Regions from separate parts of the Homo sapiens genome. Here region 1 is linked to region 2. Evidence: promoter capture Hi-C in 16 types of primary human blood cells and fetal thymus (Javierre and others, 2016). All regions are on one chromosome and are shown on one strand. Each heading gives the region's core, a stretch centred on a gene start or on the middle of the fragment in contact. The rest is flanking DNA. Distances are from core to core; before and after follow the strand shown. Region 1 has its middle 240 kb from the start of LINC03084. Region 2 holds the start of ZFPM2-AS1 (ZFPM2 antisense RNA 1).

Region 1 (3,481 bases), core at 436-2,935, 1.1 Mb after region 2:
TATGTCAAAATAAAAAATATTCAAATACCTATGTTACCACTATTCAGGGAAAAATAAAAAGCTACGATTTTTTTAAGAAAAAGTATAATTAAAACAAATAATTTGACAGAAACTTCTTTTACTGTTATTGGAATAAAGTTTCATGAGATGTTTATGTTCTTATAAGATTTTAAATAGCATTTTCTGGATTCCAATAGAGATGTGTCAATCATTTGAATCATAATAAGCCAGAAGTTCTCTTTTTATGTTAAACAAATAAATCAAAGTGAAATTCTACTTGGGCAAAAGGTGAAATTAAGTTTAAGTGACCATATTCATGAATAAAATCACTATGAAGCACAATTAAATGCATTTTTGCTACTATTATAAATGAGAAATTTTCCCATTATACCTATATTTTAATTTATAATTGGAAATTGAATTCCTGGTACTCAGATTGATCCCATCCAGAGTTTTACTTTGAAGTTTGACCTCAGAATTTGTGCAATAATATCAAGTAGATGATAAAATTACAGGGGAAATTGTGTAATAATAGCACGCCTGTAGAAATCTTTACTTGCATAGCCATGATTCTTGGACACCAACCGGCCCTTGTTTTACATAAGGATATAATATCCCTGTCTATTTGAACCCCATGTTACCAAAGAGCTAAAACACAGATCTGGTTTAATTAAACAGCAAGACCCAACAGAAAGGATCCAATCAAGATGAATAATATTTCTGCTTCTCTCGCCAAAACAAAATAGACTGCTTGAGTGCTTTATGTTCAGGCGCAGCAAGCCAATGCATGCTGGGTGTCATGTCAGATGATAATTCAAGAGTTAAAAAAGACGGAATTCTCATTCACATATGAGAAGCTGCTATCAGCTCCCTTATCGACCTTATGTGTGCTCATGGGTAAGATGCACTGTTACTCATCATAAGATGAGAAATTGATTTATCTGGATAAACTGTTAGAGGAATCTGATGGTCTCATTAGTAAGGTGCTTCCGGGCCAGCAACACTGCCTCCTCTTACTAAGGAAGACCCTTACTAAGGATCAAATGTGCTCCTGGAGAACTACAACAGGATTTGGCCCTAAATTTCCAGATAATGATGGTCGAGTAGGGCTTGATTTATTCTACGTGTTGCTTTTATTCTCTCTATTGATTCCTACAAAATAAAGATGGCCAACCCTGGTACAGAATTAGAAATAATTAGAATCAGTTGTTATTTACTCATGATTTTATTTTTTGCAGAAGTTGAGGAGTGGGTGGGGAGGGGGTGGCAGGCGAGGGGAAATGTGTCCTTTGAATAGCTGCCTCTGGAAGAAATATTCTGGTAAAAAAACTGCTTCCAGTGTTTGTCTAAAATAAAGAAATAAATAAATGTGGCGTCGGGTGAATCACATCAAAATCTCAAGACAATTCCAAGATGAACCAACTCGAAGAGTAAATGACCTCTTCATCTGGGTGATAAAGTTCCAGCCAAAATATTCTCTGGGCCTGAGACGTGATTCATTAGAAATATGTGCATGGTGTGGCGCTCCCCTCTCTATCTGGCAGAGTCCAGTCTGCACGCTGATAAGAAGCAAATGCAAATGTCCTGATAAGAACTGAATGCAAATATTTATGATATGATATTCCCTGGGAATTATGTGCAGATAAAACAAAGTGTATTATTTTCCTGCTTCTCTTTCAGGTTTGCCAAAATGCCCTTTTTCGCTTTTGGAATTTGCATTTCTTCAAAATTGATTCGGCTTGCGTATTATGTTAAGCTATTTGTTTGCTAAGGATGGTAATTAGTTACTGTAATTACAGCAATGACAGTTGCTAAATTGTTTTTAAAGCATTACAGTGAGCCTGTGCCAGAAGATTGCAGTATTTTTTTGGATTTAAGCAGAGGCTGGAAAAACTCCCACTCTAGGGCCAGCATGGGATTTTCAACTACAAAGCTGCTTTTCCTGATTGAAATTTTTAAAAAAATCATTAATTTGCATTGATTGCAAGTGCTAACTTTACATTTAGGTTTATTCACATATCACAGAAATATTAGTGATAGTGGACCTTGGCGTAGAGGAGACACAAGGGGACACTCATCGTAAATAAAAGTGAAAGCTGATAGCAGAGGAAAAATGGTATAACTGTTACTTGGAGCCTGTTAATTAAACTTTTTAGCCTGTTTTTAGATAAATTAAAAACAATTAAAAATGTTTCTCTGAAAGTCATTTCCAAACTTTTCTGAGCACTCCTGGTTAAAATGAGTAATGTGGAAAAGAATAGTTTGGCCATATTCTATTTTTGACATGTGGAAAGTAACAGAAACAAGGAGAAAGGTTATTTACCCAAATATTCCTCACAGATTGAGTTTAAAAGAAAATAATTGAGGAGGAGAGACTTGAGCTATAGTACATGTCCGAGACGGTTTGTATGATTTATGCTGTATAACTGTGACTCAGAGGTTAAAGGCAGGGAATGTGGTTCTCTGTGCTGTTTGTTGTCACAAGTGTCTTCTAACAGTACTTCATAAAGTCTAGAGGATTCAGGTGAGCTCAAGTTTTGTTCTCAGTTACATGAAGTCAAAAGAATACAAAGTTTCAGTGCATAATTTAAGGGTACAGGTTTTTATACTCATATATTCGTACTCACAAATGTCTCATAGATAATAACTACTACTATATGTTAAATGTTGTTATTCCTCTACTGCAAGAAAGTTAGCTACCATCATAACAATAATAACAACAGCAGCTAACATTCATTGACATTTTTCCAAATTCTGGGCACAATGCAAAGTATATTACCACATTCTCTCAACAATTTTTGAGATGTTATTAGCTCCACTTTACAGAATGAAATACTGAAGGTTAGAGTTAGAACTTGCTCAATGTCATATTTCTGGTAAAAACTGAACATGAAATTCAAATCCAGGCATCCTGAGTTCACAACCTGTGCTCTTAACTTGACAGGAAAGAACTTTCCATTTTAATGTAAATAAATAATAAACAAATAAATATTTGTTGAAGTCTTGACTTTGTCCTTTAATCTACAGCTAAACTGAAAGCTAAACCATAAAGTCAAGATGTCAAAAATCAAATTTTTATCTTGAAGTTTGTTCTCCTGAAATTTTATTCTATTTACTTGTTGCAGAGATAAATGTAAATTTTTTTTATTATGACTCCAATAGTACCAGCACTTCATGAGAAATCTGACTTTTCACAAAAAGAATTACTTCCTAGGAACTGACTACTTCTGCTCCAAAAAGACTCAACAAATTTAGTTTGTGTATTTTTCATCATATGAGAACTTTAAATCCCAGTTTGTGTAACATGGTTTTTATATTTGTATGAATACAGATAAAATTGGTGAATTGGTATGTTACTCATTTAAAAACTGAGTTTTGAAAATGACCTCATGCTGTGGATACCTATGTTTGACCCTCATTCTGTAAAGCTGTTTCATGCATGACACAAATCAAATAGCTCCACTATGGGAGGCAAGTATCT
Region 2 (3,281 bases), core at 582-3,081:
AGAGAATGATCCTTCCTTCCTTTTCCCGCTCCTAGGCATTCCTTGGCTTGGGTAGCATAACTCCAATTTCTGTCTCCATCTTCACATGGCTGTCTTCCATCTGTGTCTGTCTTCACGTGGCATTCTCCTCTCCATGCGTCTCTGTCTCTGTGTCTACATTTCCCTTTCCTTATAAGGACACCAGTTATATTGGATCAAGGGCCCACCCTACTCCAGTATTATTTCATCATAACTAATTAAATCTGCAAAAACTGTATTTCCAAGTAAGGTCACATTCTAAGACACTGGAGATTAGGATTTTGACATATGTTTTTGGAGGATGCAATTTAATCCATAAGAGTTAGTGGAAAAAGGTAGAGGTCCCACTGCTGCAAATGGTCCTGATGCTATAGCTGATACTTCTCATCCCTTTTCTCCACCACCCATTCTAGACTTTCCTCATACTCAGCCAATATGTCATTGCATCTAAGTTATTTGTGTGGTAGAGTAACTTCCACTGGATAGAGCAGAAGCTCTGTAAGTCTTTACCCTGGCAGGGGGCAGGAATGCAACTCTACATCTGGGATACATGTAATTTTCTTTATAGAATAATCAGTAGAAGCAGTAGCTAGATCAACATTAGGAGGTCCATGCTTTGGGTCTGTGCATAGACTCTATTCCTGACTTTGTGCTCATATATCCACTGTGCATAATCTAGGTGGTTGAGGAGGTTGGCTGATATCCACAGAATAAGTCATCCTTCCTCCCTAGCTGTTGAGTGCTTCTTATGTAGCAGATGTTCTCCTACAGGCATTAATGTGCCAGCAATCCTCCACACCCTTTGTACTACTCCAATAGGTTCATAAACTTGCCTCAACACAAATTTCATTTTTACTCTCTTCTAGTCTTGCCACTACCAGGCTTCTGCCCATGAAGACAAGCCCAGCAGTTCCATATATCTTTACCTCATATTACTCTTCTTTGCAGCCAAGATGAATAACCAGGTTTGCTTGCAGTTCTGCTCATTGAGAGGATGTTCCTTTACCCCCAGTCTTCAGGCAGTCCCTGGGTGGGGCTGGAGTGATGGCATACCATTTTATACTTTTACTAACCTATCAGCCAACTGATCCCATGGACCAAGCTCAGGCTTTTCCCCTTCAGTTAGTTGATTGTAAGGAAGCCCCTATGAGGCCATGGGTTCCAGCTGAGATGAATTATCCTTCAGAGTTCTTTCTTGCTTGTTTCTACTTATATTTGGAACAGGCAATTTGCAAAGGTAGAAAGGAAAAACATCAATTAGGTAGATACTACAATAACTAAAGAGTTAAGTATCAAAATTTTAACTCATGAGGTGATGGTAAGAAGTGAAAACATCGCCTCTAAGAAATATTGGGCAGATAAAATAGAATGCAACAATTCAAAAGAGAAGGATGCTTTAATGTAAGGAGAAAAGCTGTGACTTTAGCTTTAAATATACTAAGATGGAGGTGGTGAGGGTATTCAACCACAAACCTACATTCTATGTGCCCAGGATTGTTCAAGGTATGTGTCAGGTTCTAACTGAGGTCCGAGGGGAGTCAGTGGGTGAGTGGTGGGTAGCCGGAAAAACACTGGGGGAATCGTAGACAGTTTTGACATGGCTTTTCTCTCTCTCTGCGCATAAGCCATATGTACAGCATCAGCAGTGTAGTTATAACTTTTACAGACGACAGTGGCTCTGAATCAAGCACGCGCTCACGTGACTGGTTACTAATGCGCCTCACGTGGCGTGGTTACCTAATGAGCTGAGTTGTGTGAGTGAGCTCCAAACTCACTGAGTCATGCTGGACCGGATGTCTGCTTCGACCTATTCTTGACCGCAGCACATCCGTTTTCCTTACAGTATGTAGTACGCATTCTACCTTTTCCTACAATGAATCCACCAGCAGAAATTCCTGTACACATCTTATCAACAAAGAATTTGAACCTCAAAGAGTAAGTACTTTCTCCAGAGTGTAAGATTGTTAATGTCTGTGATATTCTTTGAAGTGAGGCAAGTAAATACTTCTCAACATGTTTTCTTTTCCTGCTCCTCTTTCTCCTACTTCTTTCCTTCTTTTTTCCTCCTCTTCCTGTTATAGGACTAGCAAGTACACAGGACCACTGTACAGTAACAGATCAGTTACACTGAGACAACAGAGTTTACAGCAGAGAAAGAGTTTAATGCTCACCGGATACCAAGTGAGGAGATGGGAGGAGACCCTCAAGTTCGTCTCCCCAAGGAGCACTTGGCTGGGGTTTTTAATGGGATCATGGAGGGTGAGAGGTTGGAGCATTGAGATTGTTGATATTTGGGGTAAGGGGGATGACATCATGAGGATGTAGAAACTGCATTCTTTGGTGAGTCAGCTTCTTGTGGGGTCCTTCAGACTAGCTGATGTCAGTAGTTTCATTCTTTTACAGGGCTTGCAGGACTTGAAAGAATAGAACTTATGTTTTCCCTTTGAGGTATTTTAAGTTTTTATCTGTAGAGCAGTGAAGGGGAACGGTAATCTTGTAACAGGGTCTATGTAATTCGGAGGCAATAGGCAAACAACTATGAGGAATGGATCACAGAGCATCTAACATAATGATTAATGCTGGGTGTGCTGCAAGCTTGCTTTATTTTCATTTCTCCCCGTCCCTTCTTCCCTGATTGAATTTATAAAGTTTACAGGAGCAGTTTCACTCATGGTAACTATATCTTGGTTTTGAATTAGACTGTCAGTATAGACAGGAAATACGGCACTGCTCACAGTTGATGCTTCATAAATATTTTGGGGGAAAAAGTTCTTACACATTACTCCTCCTGATCTCCGAAATTTGAGTTTGAAATAACTTAAGTAAAACCTTTGAACATTGTTATTTACCAGCTGCAAAAGTTTAAAATATGAAATTTACCTCAGTACAACCCCTCTTGAATGATTTAATTTTATACTTTAAAAGCTACATTTCATCCTATCTGTTTTTTGGCAAAAAGTAATTGAAGCCAACTATTCTTTTCTTTTTCATAATCCCACATGTACAGTTCTTAATTAAGCACAATTAAAATCAGCTTTTTCTGTCTTATTTTGTATTCTCATTCCATATGCTATATGTTCTTTATTTCTATTAAAAAGATGTACTTTTAATAAAAATGGATCTTTCTTCCTTTCTTATATTGCTATGATTTTATAGCTTTCAAATCCATTCTTAATTAGGTTCTGGTGCTGGTGATTATTAAGTTCTTCACACTTCTCTCATAGTGGAGCTTAAGGTAAGATAAAGGAAATGACAATTCCCAA

The links. The method cuts DNA at HindIII sites, captures the fragments that hold promoters and counts their contacts. A CHiCAGO score of 5 or more calls a contact.
Region 1: a fragment that was not itself captured here is called in contact with the fragment with the promoter of ZFPM2-AS1 in region 2 in 4 of 17 cell types (M2 macrophages, M1 macrophages, fetal thymus and 1 more); the score reaches 6.5 in M2 macrophages.

What each region holds. Positions count from the first base shown.
Region 1 is chr8:104,948,520-104,952,000 of GRCh38, reverse strand. No RefSeq gene overlaps it. Among named protein-coding and RNA genes, the nearest start is that of LINC03084, 240 kb to the left of the region's middle. The HindIII fragment of the contact is 5,175 bases long and covers 1-3,481 here.
Region 2 is chr8:106,059,053-106,062,333 of GRCh38, reverse strand. ZFPM2-AS1 (ZFPM2 antisense RNA 1) reads left to right here and starts at 1,831. Exons shown (of 5, transcript NR_125797.1): 1 at 1,831-1,953. RefSeq lists an enhancer at 1,137-2,336. The HindIII fragment of the contact is 2,678 bases long and covers 1-2,615 here.